3 separate regions of the Homo sapiens genome follow, and all the other regions are linked to region 1. Evidence: promoter capture Hi-C in 16 types of primary human blood cells and fetal thymus (Javierre and others, 2016). All regions are on one chromosome and are shown on one strand. Each heading gives the region's core, a stretch centred on a gene start or on the middle of the fragment in contact. The rest is flanking DNA. Distances are from core to core; before and after follow the strand shown. Region 1 holds the start of RMDN1 (regulator of microtubule dynamics 1). Region 2 overlaps PARAIL (palmitic acid regulated anti-inflammatory lncRNA). Region 3 holds the start of RIPK2 (receptor interacting serine/threonine kinase 2).

Region 1 (4,472 bases), core at 1,892-4,391:
TTACCCTCTGGTTTAATTACATAATTTTTTAAGTTCTGGGATACAGGTGCAGAATGCGCAGGTTTGTTACATAGGTATACATGTCCCATGATGGAAATGTTTATTTTTTTAAGTGTAATTTTGCCAAATAATAAAAACAGAAGGAAATTGAGATTGGAGGGAGGTGTTTAAAGAGAGGTTATACAGTAGAAGATTTCATGCTGGGGAGGTTAGCGTGCAATATGAAGAATTTAGGGAGAAATGTAGTTCATTATTGGAGGGTATATTATGTGGTGCCTGAAGTCTGCACATTACCTCTTGACAATTTCTGTCCTTCAGATGGAAACTCTTAATTTCCCATAAAAGTCATATGCCTACATAATAAAGTTATTGATTTCCTTTGGAACTTTTTTCTTTTAATAGTTTACATGTAGTAGTACTTGAAATCTAGGATTATTAACTAATATGGGCATTGTAGTTAATGGTGGTTGATGGGTTCTAATTTTGAATGGAGTCAAGGGAAGGGAAAGTTATTTCTAGAAAGCTTGTTCCCCCTCACTGGACCAAACAACTCCTCCTTGTAGGAGACTCATTACTTTTGAAGTAATCCCACCACCTATCTGGTGGGAGAGCCATCCAAATGAGAAACTTAAAATAATCAGTTCTTGGTAGAGATTCATTATTTCTCCATTTTGTGCTTTAGGAGATTTTAGGTGTTGATTTTGTTTTATTTTAACTCATATCTTTAAAGGAATTCCCCAAAGAATGTTTATAGCTAACTTGGAATTTATAACCTCAGCTCTGGGATTTTTTTCTGAACGATTATTATCTAAAGGTGTGTTGTTGCCTTTAGGGTCATGCCATGCTTGTCTATGTCTGTTACCATGTCACTGTGGTCCTATGCCAAGTGCCCTTAGGGGGTCTCAATCTTTCCAACAGACCATGTTCGAGATAGTATGAGTCAATGTACAGTGTAGCCCACACTTGAGAGGATGAATATGTGTGCACTGTCCCTTTGCTCTGGATGGAAATAGGTTATTGTTGACTTATTTTTTCTGTGTTCCTACAGCCCCTTTTTCATATGTTGCTCAATTTCCCTTCCCCTTCTTGGTGCTTACACATCTCAGACCCTTTAGCCAAACCCTTGCTGATAACGGTATCTTGGTTCTCAGTTCTCACTGTTTCCTCTGGTCACGGAGACTTCAAATAAAAATGCACATAGCTATGGAGTGGGGTTTAGCTGGAAAAGGTGACCTTCTTCCAACTTCACGTCAACTTCTGGCTCCTCAAACAGTAGGTTGGCAGTTAGGCAGGGAAGTTGTTTTCCCATTTCTCACTGAGCAGATTGTGAATATTTCCATATGGATTTTCTATTATTAACATTACCCTGATTCTTTGTTTTAAAATAAAAATTCTGAATGTACGCACACAAAAAAACTCTAAATGTTCCATATATCTAATTTATGCTTACCTTTGGCTGTGGCATGAACCACAGCAGCCTGAGAGATAACCTGGTAAGTTTCAAAACCCAAATACGACAAAGCTGAGAGTAAAAGGCCTCTTTTGAAAGTTCCTGGGTTTCCCATTACCTATGGAAACAATTATGTTAAGAGTTACAAACTTTGAAAATTTGAAGGTACTGCTACCCCAAGCAAAAATTACATGAATTTTCTCCCACCCCCAAAGCAATCGATCATAATACTGGAAGCTTAAAAATTACTTCATCAAAATCTTTAGTAAAACTATCTCAAAGCGTATCTTATTGAGAAAAAGATATCCCCTGGAGTCGCCGCTCATCTAAAAATCACACTCCTGCTGGAAAGGAAGAGCTACAACTTATTTGCTACAACTTATTTGCAAATGCATGGATATTGCAAATTGTATGAAGTAAAATATGAGACACCAACACATAATAAAAATGAATCTTACAGACAAGATTATCATATATAGTAATTACTACATATAAAAATGTACATGGCTAACTTTTAAATTTTTTTGTAGAGACAGGGTCTCACTGTGTTGCCCAGGCTGGTTTCAAACCCCTGGACTCAAGCAATCCTTCCGCCTCGGCTTCCCAAAGTGCTGGGATTACAGGCTGAGCCAAGGGGCCAGGCCTAAAATGGGACTTCAAACTCATCATTGTTCCAATTTGAAAACTTACGGCTAACTAGTTTCATACTTAGAACTCCTCCCATCTCTCTGCCTATATTATCTATAACCTCCCCATTTGGTTATAAACTTCCAAGGAAGGGGAATATGCCAAATTTTAACCACCCCTCCCCACCATCAGTCCCATAATAATTCTGAAAGATTTTAACTGAGCAGTTAAAAATTTGAGTTTAAAATAATGAAACCCCTAGTTCATGTGAAATATATCATATGCATTAATGCCATTCCAATTCCCTGACAAGAATAAACAGAGGCCCACGAGCAGTCTAATAGAAATACCAGAACTGAGACTACAACATGCCGACAACCTTCATTGACGTTATGCAGATACAACGGGCAACTGAGAAATAAACATTTTTAAACAAAAACCTAAACAGTATGAAATCTCTGCTTCTGAGTCGTAGAACTTTTTAAATCACACACCACACTTTTCAAAGTCTGAAAGGGGCAGCCTCAAGCGCTGTTGTATCTGTCATCGCCTACAGGGAGAATAATTTCACAGCGGTCAAGGTTCTTTCCCGTCCTGTTTTACATTTCGCACAAGAAGGGCGGGTAGCAGGCAGCTTCTGGGGCGCGTGGGGGCAAACCCCACTCCTTCTCTGACAGCCCCAGTTAAGGATAGTGGAGGTTTGCAAAATGGAAGGGACCTGTCCGGGCGTTCCAGGCACAGTGGCCCCGAGTTCTTTCCTCGGTTCACCACATTCCTTAGGCAGCGCGGGGCCGCCACCACTTAAGTTAAGGGGGAGCCGGAACCCACTGAGTAGGAAGTGAGGAGCGGGAGCCAGGACCACGGGGGTACCTCGAAGCCGCGGAATCGACAGGGGCCGCAATGCCCGCGGCTGCCCGAAGTCCCCGCAGGGAGACGAGACCCCGGGGCGGCTCCACGTCGGAAAGGCAGAAGGCGCCACAGTCGAGCAGCCAGCGCCATGACCTGCAACTTGCGGGCTGACCCTGCACTACTTCAGGCAGCTACGGAGGCGGGCGGGGCTAAAGGAGATTCAATCCTTCCGGAAAGAACCGCGCCCGCCCGCCTCCTGCACAGCACCTCTTCCGCCTCCTGCCCAGCACCTCTTCCGCCCCCATGGTTTCCGGTGCACGGGCTTAGGGGGTGGGAAATACCCCGATTGGGTGGGACTTAATGGACTTTCCGCGCCTGCGTCCAGGACTGAGGCCGTGAGAGCGCTCTCTTCAGGCGCTCTGACTTGTTTCTGCTCCATCTCTCTAGGGGGTCTTTCATGGTTTGGGCACAAGGATTCGTCGCCAGAATAGAACTGAAAGCTCGGAAATAGACCCGAGAATACAAGTATGCCAGAAAAAAAATTGTCATTTTAATTATCTGCTGCCTTCAAAAGTAGATTGAATCTTGGTACTAGTGGGTCTTTTTTGGAAGTAAATAATTGGAAGAATTATGTTGCCCAACATGAAGAAGGGAAAGTCTCAGTCTCTTCGACTGAGCGACTCAAGGGGGTAGATTCAAGAGAGAGTCCAGAGCAAAGAAACAAAAAATGCAAAGCGTTTTGGGAAGAGGAACTAGCGGGAGGAGGCCTCTGGAAAGGATACTGATGCCCTTGAATGCTAGGGCATGTGTAGTAAAAAACAGAAACAAAAACAAACCCTGGTCTCCCCTAAAATTCTTCAATAAGATGTTTTACTTACTCGAGCAAAGTATTTTATTTTACTCGAGTAAAATAAAATTTCTTGCTCGAGTGGAATTCTTTTGTGGGAAAATGAAGAAATTTTGGATCCTACTTGAGGCCTGATCAGGGTGGGTGGAAACACAGACTGCAAAGGGAGTACCTACTATATGGGTTTAACGAAAAATCTTATGGGTAATAAGGGAGGCGAGTCATGGTTTTAAAAAATTAGGTTGCATTTCTATGGTACTTTTAATACTGTATAGGGAATTAATACATAGTCGTATTGATCTTCCGAACTACCTTGTGAAGTAAGTGGTATCCCAGGTTTACAAATGAAAAAACTGTAACTCAAAGAGATGTATTAACCTAACCAAGGATATGTTAGAAGACAGGAATCCATGTCTTTCTACTCTGAGTCCAGTGCTCCTTCTACTATATGATTGCTACCTCCACTAGTCCCATTAAATCAGCTGTATTTCTTTAGGATTATGTCTTTAAAGTCTATCTTTAAAAATATATAGATCTCCTTCCCAACTTCTGAAACCTAGCTGTTTTTTCCCAAAGACAGAATCACTTTTATTTTATGCATTTCTACTGGCAGCTACCCCCTCAACATTGCTAAATGTTTATGCCACTGGATACCATGATAACAGTGAAATTAAGTTTCTGATATCTCTGCTAGAGTGA
Region 2 (3,974 bases), core at 999-3,498, 3.2 Mb after region 1:
CAGTTCCTTGGTGCGCCTTACAAAACTACACTCACTAAGTAATCACACATGACATGCTCATTCATTTAGGCCACCACCTACCTCAAACATTGTTCAAGACTTGAGAGAGGTGCATCTCCATGAAGAATTATTGGCACTATTTTCTCTTCTACTTAGAGTCACAGGACAGCAGAGCCATATGCCACAAACAAAAATCAAACCAAAATAACATAAAATATTACCACTGTTAAGACGAGAAAAAGAATATGTTAAGATGGGGCAGGAATGCTGAACACACCTCTTTCCTTTCCCTGACTTTTTAAAACACTGCTACGTCCTTGTCAAATTCTGTTTGAGAAGTTAGACTCACACGCTTCCCAAATCTTAAAGCCTAGGAATACATTTTCCAGTAATACAGTAACTAGCGACAAAATTACTCTTCAGTCAAGCAAGTTGAAAGAAGTATGGAATTCATTTTAAATGGGTTATTAGCTGAATACTAAAATCAATCGTTCAATGTCCCAGGATTTTATCAATTAGATTTAACTGTAATTTAAGACAGTCATTAGCTTCCTAAATTCTTAAACTTTCAGAGCTTATAAAAGCAACACAGCCTGGCTGTGTATTTCAATCACCAAGTAGAGTCAAAACGTGTTTCAAGAGATCACTAAAATGCCTGCTGGAACTGAGGAAGGGAAAAAACAAGATAAAAACAAACACTAGCAAAACCGATACCCTAGTCACCTAATAAGCTTTTAGACAACAGATCTCCCTCCAGATTCTTGCAAGATTTCTTCTTTGACCTGACTCCCTTTAGATATAATAATTTATATGGTGCCCCTACTATCAGGGTTTAAGTGAGTCATCGCTTTGTTCTCTATATGTCAAAAGCACTCAGTACCTTCCACATATTCCTCTCTTGAAATTCAGAGTGGAACAAGTCACAAAACTTGTTTTCCCTCAGAGATAAGGTTATGCCAAATCAGCCAAGTCCCTGAGAAAAAGGCATCCCCAGTATTTTCATGTACTGGTACCATTTATTATAAAGGGAGACTTTTTAATTTTGTTGATTTGTTTGTTTTGAGGGGCCACATAAATTACTGTAAAATTGCTTTAGATTTCACACTCAGGCAGCGACACACAGTAGCTAAGAGACTAGACTTTGTCAGACAGAATGGGAATCTGGTAGGTTTTACCACTTACTAACCCACATAACATTGGGAAAGTAACATTAGCTAATTGTTAATTACTAAGGCACTGTTCAAAGTGCTTAACTTGAATGAATTCATTTACTCCTCAAAAGTCCCTATGAGATAGGATCCTATAAATGAGGTAACTGAGGTAAAAACAGTAAGTAATATACTCAAGATCACAGAGCTGGTAAAATAAAGAACTGAGAATAAACTCAGGTAGCCCTGTTGCTAAAGCCTATATTCTTAACCACTTCATTGGTGGTTTTTAAAAAATTTAAATACAACCCACTCCAAGAAGTAATTTTTTAAGGGCTGGGTGTGGTGGCTCACACATGTAATCCCAGCACTTTGGGAGGCTGGGGTGGGCAGATCACCTGAGGTCAGGAGTTCGAGACCAGCCTGACCAACATGGAGAAATCCCGTCTCTACAAAAAAAAAAAAAAAAAAAATTATCTAGGCGTGGTGGCACATGTCTGTAATTCCAGCTACTCAGGAGGCTGAGGCAGGAGAATCGCTTGAACCTGGGAGGTGGAGGCTGCAGTGAGCCGAGATCGCACAATGCACTCCAGCCTGGGCAACAAGAGCAAAACTCCGTCTCAAAAAAAAAAAAAAGTAATTTTTACTAGGACTCATTGTAAGAAATATGTTCTGTAACACAACCCAGTACATACACATATGTGTTTATTTTATAGACATGATAAGATATATATATAATTGAAACCAAAATTTGATGAAGCTATGCCTACTCTTACTTCCTGAAATGCAATGATATTTCATATTCTATTTTATTGTTTAATAACTACTGATCACTCCCTACAAAATTGATTTCAAAATCCACTGAGAGTCATGACCTGAAGTTTGAAAACAAGAAACATTTATTTTTACCACCATGGAAAATTTTGGAGGATTAAGTAAGATAACATACGCAGAGCATTTAGCATAACTCCTGGCACATACCATGTGCTAAATTCATGGTAGCTATTTTTATGTATCTTTTTGAAAACTAGCTGCAATTGTGGAAGGCAGGGACAATGAGGGGAAAACCCTGACTGGGCTATAGATGAATTTATTGTCAGTTAGGTCTGTCCTTGGTAGTGAGATGGGGAATTTCTCCAGTATCTTTAACTTGTGCTGCAATGGAAATGTGTATGCAGAAAGAGAGCTGACTCATGGTTATCTCTTCTCCACTACAAAAAATTGCAAATTACAAGTTATTGTGCCTCACCACTGGAAACCTCAGTAAATTCCAAATTATTGATCCATATTTACATCCAGTACTTACACTGGATACGATGATGTATACAGAACTGGTCTTCAAAAGGAGTCCTGCTGGGAAGAAGTGTTCATTTTTTGTTGATGCTTTATCAAATTACCACAAACTTAGTGGCTTAAAACAATGCAAATTTATTATCTTATAGTTCTAGAGGTCAGAAATCTGGACAGAGTCTCACTGAGCTAAAATCATGGTGTCAGTAGGGCTGGGTTGCTTTCCAGCAGTTCTAGGTGAGAACCCATTTCCTTACCTTTTCCAACTTCTTGAAAGAAGCCACCTGTATTGCTTGGCTCATGGCCCCTTCTTTCATCCTCAAAGCCAGAAACAGCAGGTTGAATCCTTCTCACATCACGTCACTCCAACTCTGACACTGACTCCATTGTCACATATCCTTTTCTGGCTCTTCTGCCTCTCTTCCATCTTTGAAAAACCTTTGTGATTACACTGGGTCCAGCTGAATAATTCAGGATAATCTCCCCATTCAAGATCCTTGACTCAATCACATCTTCAAAGCCCTCTTGCCATGTGAGGTAATATCAGAGGTGCTGGAACATTTGGTGGGGTTGGGGCAGTAGGCAACTATTCTGCCTAACACAGGACATAAACCACAAAAAAGAGCAAATAAGATGCAACAACAATAATGATAACACTGAACATTTACTATATGGCAGGCATTGTGCTGAGTAAATTATTTGCCTTGACTCACTTTCTAGGTGAGAAACCAAGACTCCCAAAGATAATGCAAAGTACAGAGTTATACAGATAGAAAGTGGCAAACCCAGGTCTGCCTGACTTCAAAGATCATACTCTCAACCACTTTACTACACATAACAAAATACCAAATCTATACACAATTAGTGGTTTGCAACTTTTCTCTATCAGGAATTCCTTTTGCTATTTTCCCTCCAGGGACCTGATCTTGAAAAATTTTGTAAATTAAACAGCAAAACATTTTATTAACCTAAGCCAAACTTCTGATTCCAACATCTGATAGCTTTGAGCTAAACTCTTTGTCTCTTTTGGGACTTACATAGTTCTAACCCCCTCAAAAAAAATGCAATTAACATTTCATTTTACATATCTTGGCATCATTTTGGAATCCTAAAAACAGGAACTCAAATAACCACCTTTATAGATACCTGATGAGTTGTTTCAGGTTGAAGTAATGATCCAAGAGTTCAGAGAAGGAGATTGATGGTGGTGGTGTAGTCAGAAGAAGTGGAATATAACCTCAGTCTCAAAGAAGCAGAAATTTCCAATGAACTAGAGAAGAAGGAAGAATACAAATAGCGTCTAGGAAGTGAGAACAAGTAAATCTAGGGAAGCTTGTTAGGAAAAACTGGAAAAGAAAATTAAGTAGAGAATAAATAAAGCATTCAGGCTTTGAAACACAGGTAAATACAGTTACATTTAACCAGATAGGAAAATACAGAATCTGGAAAGTTTCTGGGCCACAAAGTGCCACACAGTAAAATCAGGCATCTGCTCCTGGCATGCTTAAGAGCTCAGAATAAAGGACTTCCCCATTC
Region 3 (4,190 bases), core at 299-2,798, 3.3 Mb after region 1:
TCCCACTTCCCAGCCGCCCGTCCCAGCCCTCGGCCTCCGCTGCGCGACCCGGGCGGAGGATCCCGGCCGCAGGCCGAGGCGAGAGCCAGGCGGGAGGGCCGCGAGCGGGCTGCCCCTCTCCCCGCCTTGCCGTCCGCCGCTGACGTAACCTGCGAAGTTTGGGGAGGGAGGAGCTCGGGCGGCCGGAGCTGGTCGCTGCGCGCGCCGGGGGGAGGGCCGGGGCTGCGAGAGAGGAAGCTCTTTCGCGGCGCTACGGCGTTGGCACCAGTCTCTAGAAAAGAAGTCAGCTCTGGTTCGGAGAAGCAGCGGCTGGCGTGGGCCATCCGGGGAATGGGCGCCCTCGTGACCTAGTGTTGCGGGGCAAAAAGGGTCTTGCCGGCCTCGCTCGTGCAGGGGCGTATCTGGGCGCCTGAGCGCGGCGTGGGAGCCTTGGGAGCCGCCGCAGCAGGGGGCACACCCGGAACCGGCCTGAGCGCCCGGGACCATGAACGGGGAGGCCATCTGCAGCGCCCTGCCCACCATTCCCTACCACAAACTCGCCGACCTGCGCTACCTGAGCCGCGGCGCCTCTGGCACTGTGTCGTCCGCCCGCCACGCAGACTGGCGCGTCCAGGTGGCCGTGAAGCACCTGCACATCCACACTCCGCTGCTCGACAGGTAGGCAGTCACTGGGGTTCCCTGGAAGAGCCCTCAACTCCTGCATCCCCTCAAGCCCCCTGACAAGCGGGCTCTAGAGCCCAAATGGCAGTGACCGCTTGGGGCCGGCCTCACCTCGTCACCTCTAGGGAGCCCTTCAAGCTTGGGAGATAGGGAGCACCCACCCTTCAAGCTCTGGCACCGTAGGGAGCACAGGCTTCTCTGGAGATGCAGCAGTTGCATTCCTCCACACATCTCTCCATTACCCTTTCTCTCCTTCCCTCTTACTCCTAGGCGTTCTGGCTCCGTACTCCAAAAATCAGCAATCACTGCCTAACTCTAAACGCTGGGTTTACTGAAATTGATGTGTGTTTATATATAGTGGGTGTGGGTTTTGTTTGCTTTGTTTTTTCCTTATTTTTGAAATTGGGCTGTAGGGCTGCACTGTCCAGTAGGTAGCTCTTAGCCACAGGTGGCTATTGAGCACTTGAAATGTGCCCGTCCGAATTGAAGTGTGACCTAAGTGTAAAATACCAGAGTTCGAATGCTTAGTATTTATTAAAAAAAGAACTTATAATATTTTATTATTTGTTTATTGATTATATGCTGAAATAACATTTTTGATATCTTGGGTTAAATATAAGATTAAAATTCATTTTATGTGTTTCTTTTTACTTTATGTGGCCACGAGAAAATTTTAAATTGTATGTGGTGGTGTTCACATTATATGTTTATTGGACCGCACTGCTTTAGAATCAAGGATGTTTTGCTTCTTATTGTTTTTATTTTGGTTTTGGTTTATTATGTGTTGTCAGGAACGTTTTATATCAAACTCAATACTAGCAGTTCAGTTTCTCCCAGTCTCAGTTTCTCTCACAGGGAAGATTAAGTAGAGGAAATGTGTGCTATTTTTGCCACAATAAATTGAACCAAAAGACTGTTAAATGGCCAGAAATTGTAAATGGCTTTCACTTATTGGTTTGTACAGGTTTTAAGGGAAGGTTAGCATTAGTTTCTGTTTTCAGAAGAACATTACAACCGCGTGCCATAGACCTGTGACTGTGTATTAGTCAATGGGTCACTAGTCTTGTGTATTTTACTTCCTACAGGGATTTAACTAGGCCCAGCATTCAGTTCTTAGTGAGTTAACATCCATGATTACAACATTCTCTTCTCCTCCTCCTATATCTAATGTGAAAATACGTCATCCCCGATGCCTGATTGGCCAGAAGCTGTGAGTATCCAGCATCAGATAAATTCCTCAGCTTCCGCCCTGCCAAAGTTACTGGATTTTCACCTGCCTGTGGCTTTTCTTCATTGTCTCTCACTGTCAGGCTTCGATGGCCTAAATGGCACAGGAGATTTGGGACACTTCTAGAGCTTGTTTCCACTTCTTGTCTATCATAATCCAGATTCAGTGATATACAAGGTGTGGTGTCTGTTTACTCCAGGCCTTATATTCTGTGGAGCAAGTGCTGGACAAGTGTGTATATGTGTCTGTAGTCAACTTTTAAGGGTGGTGGTTGGTTAGAGAGGGTGGATATATGTTAGAACCAGTTATGCAAACACTATATGGAAATGTAGCACTGATGGACCCATTAGGTATTGAAAAGCCAATTGATCCTCCCACTTTGGGTGCTGCTTCTCAGGATTTTGATTTATCTAAGCTTTGTGCAGTTTGGGGACCAAGAAGTGAAGAGGGAGTTTCCTTCCCATACTCATGAACAATTTTCATAGTCTAAAATTCTTCACTGAATTGGGTAGGAAATTAATTCTGTCTTCGAGGAAGCCATAAGACCAGCGAAACACTCTGGCATTTACTGCATCACATTCTTTTCTCCAATTTGTTACTTAAGATCTTATCATTGCAGTATTTATGTAGTCTGAGCATTAGATGAGGCTATGCAGTTGACTCACTGGTGTCTCTTTCCTCACTTATAAAATACGAATAATAAATACATGTGTTTCTCGGACTATGGAGAACAATGTTTGCATTGTTCTTTGGGATGACCTGAAAAAAAATAAGTTTATGCAATGTTACATGCTCTTATTTTAATGACTGGTGAATCAGTCTCCATAACCTGACTTCTATCCGATGAGTGGACCTTCCCCAACAATCTTCCCACCCCTTATGAGTAATGAGTCCAATTGGTTGTTCAAATACCCTGTAGATGACATAACTTTTCTGATTAAATTTTTGAGTTAATTTTGGTGATGTGACTATGGAAGCTGTACTTTACACCTTTATTTTCAAAATGTAAAAATCAATTTTTAAAATCTTTTGGCTTTAAAAAAAATTTCCCACTCACTCAATCTTGCCAAAAATCTACCTTCAAGAACTTTCCTACTATATTCTTTGATCAAGCAATAGGGTAGAAAGAATGCAGGCTTTAATGTCCCATGATTGCAATTCAAATCTGACGCCAACCCTGCCACTTATTAGTGTGACCATTAGAAAAGTATTAATTTTTCTGAGCCTTAGTGCCCTCATTTATAAAGTGGAGCTAATGAAACTATGTTTAGAGGGTGATCTTAAGATGCTAGTGCATATAAAGTGACTGACATGTAATAGGGTCACAGTGGAAAGAAGAATGCCTCTTAATGGGAGGAGGAAAGAGTGTGTGAAGTGTCACTGAGACTTCTGCAGCATGCACTCTCTATTGTTCTTAGTATCCAGGAATCTTCAGGGTCATCCTCTATTGTTGGCCTAAATCTCTTGGGGCAGATATGGAACTATTTCCATCTAGGGAATAAACATTTAATTAAAATGGGTCTCACAAACTGATACTGGTTTCCTAGCAGTTGGAGTATTAAGTGATTGAAGGACAGAGAATGAGAGAAGCTTTTCACTTTATGCCTTCTTGTTACTCTTGAATTTTAAGACATATAAATATATGACCTATTCAAAAAATAAATGACGAAGATTCTTTTGCTTTGTTTTTTTGTTTGTTTTTAAAAGTAGTCCTCTTAGTCTGGTCTAGAATGTCTGTTGCTATTCATATTTCAACAGCCATTCATTCAGAGCTTGGGAGGTGTAAGAACTAACTTATCATCATTACTTACCTAATAGGCTTCTCCTGGAAACATTTCTATTTCTGTCATTGCTGCAGCCAACATCCAGTCACTCAGGGTAAAAAAATAATGACATCTCCAATTCCTTTTCATTTTTTTTTTAACCCCCTACAGTCAGTCACTACAACGCGGGCATTCTATTCACTTAGTGTTTTTCTTTCCATTTCCACTGCTACCTTTGTAGTTTTAGGTTCATGTATTAACTGGTATTAAAATCTCCTAACACCTGACTTTCAAACTCTACCACTTTCTACTAATCCTACATCTTGTTGCCAAATTGATCATCTTAAAATTGTATTCTACTGTCATTCCCCAACTCAAAAACTTTCAGTCACACCAGGTACATTGGCACACCCCTGTAGTCCCAGCTACTCAAGAGGCAGAGTAGGGAGGGCCAGTCTGGGCGACATAGCAAGATCTGGTCTGTTAAAAAAAAAAAAAGTTTCCAGTGTGTATTCTGTATGTTAAAAAAAGCAAACAAA

Evidence for each region. The method cuts DNA at HindIII sites, captures the fragments that hold promoters and counts their contacts. A CHiCAGO score of 5 or more calls a contact.
Region 2: a fragment that was not itself captured here is called in contact with the fragment with the promoter of RMDN1 in region 1 in 1 of 17 cell types (total B cells); the score reaches 5.8 in total B cells.
Region 3: a fragment that was not itself captured here is called in contact with the fragment with the promoter of RMDN1 in region 1 in 1 of 17 cell types (total B cells); the score reaches 5.6 in total B cells.

What each region holds. Positions count from the first base shown.
Region 1 is chr8:86,505,545-86,510,016 of GRCh38, forward strand. RMDN1 (regulator of microtubule dynamics 1) reads right to left here and starts at 3,142. Exons shown (of 10, transcript NM_016033.3): 1 at 2,948-3,142; 2 at 1,451-1,568. The coding sequence starts at 3,076. It also overlaps the pseudogene SLC2A3P4. RefSeq lists an enhancer at 2,887-3,056. The HindIII fragment of the contact is 14,106 bases long and covers 1,686-4,472 here.
Region 2 is chr8:89,721,934-89,725,907 of GRCh38, forward strand. PARAIL (palmitic acid regulated anti-inflammatory lncRNA) reads right to left here. Exons shown (of 5, transcript NR_125822.1): 2 at 3,585-3,708; 3 at 2,696-3,033; 4 at 82-223. Among named protein-coding and RNA genes, the nearest start is that of PARAIL, 34 kb to the right of the region's middle. RefSeq lists enhancers at 3,771-3,974, 3,896-3,945. The HindIII fragment of the contact is 3,039 bases long and covers 730-3,768 here.
Region 3 is chr8:89,757,577-89,761,766 of GRCh38, forward strand. It overlaps RIPK2 (receptor interacting serine/threonine kinase 2), which reads left to right and starts at 240. Exons shown (of 11, transcript NM_003821.6): 1 at 240-657. The coding sequence starts at 485. It overlaps PARAIL (palmitic acid regulated anti-inflammatory lncRNA), which reads right to left and starts at 135. Exons shown (of 5, transcript NR_125822.1): 1 at 1-135. RefSeq lists a silencer at 1-105 and enhancers at 646-715, 1,994-2,083. The HindIII fragment of the contact is 1,505 bases long and covers 797-2,301 here.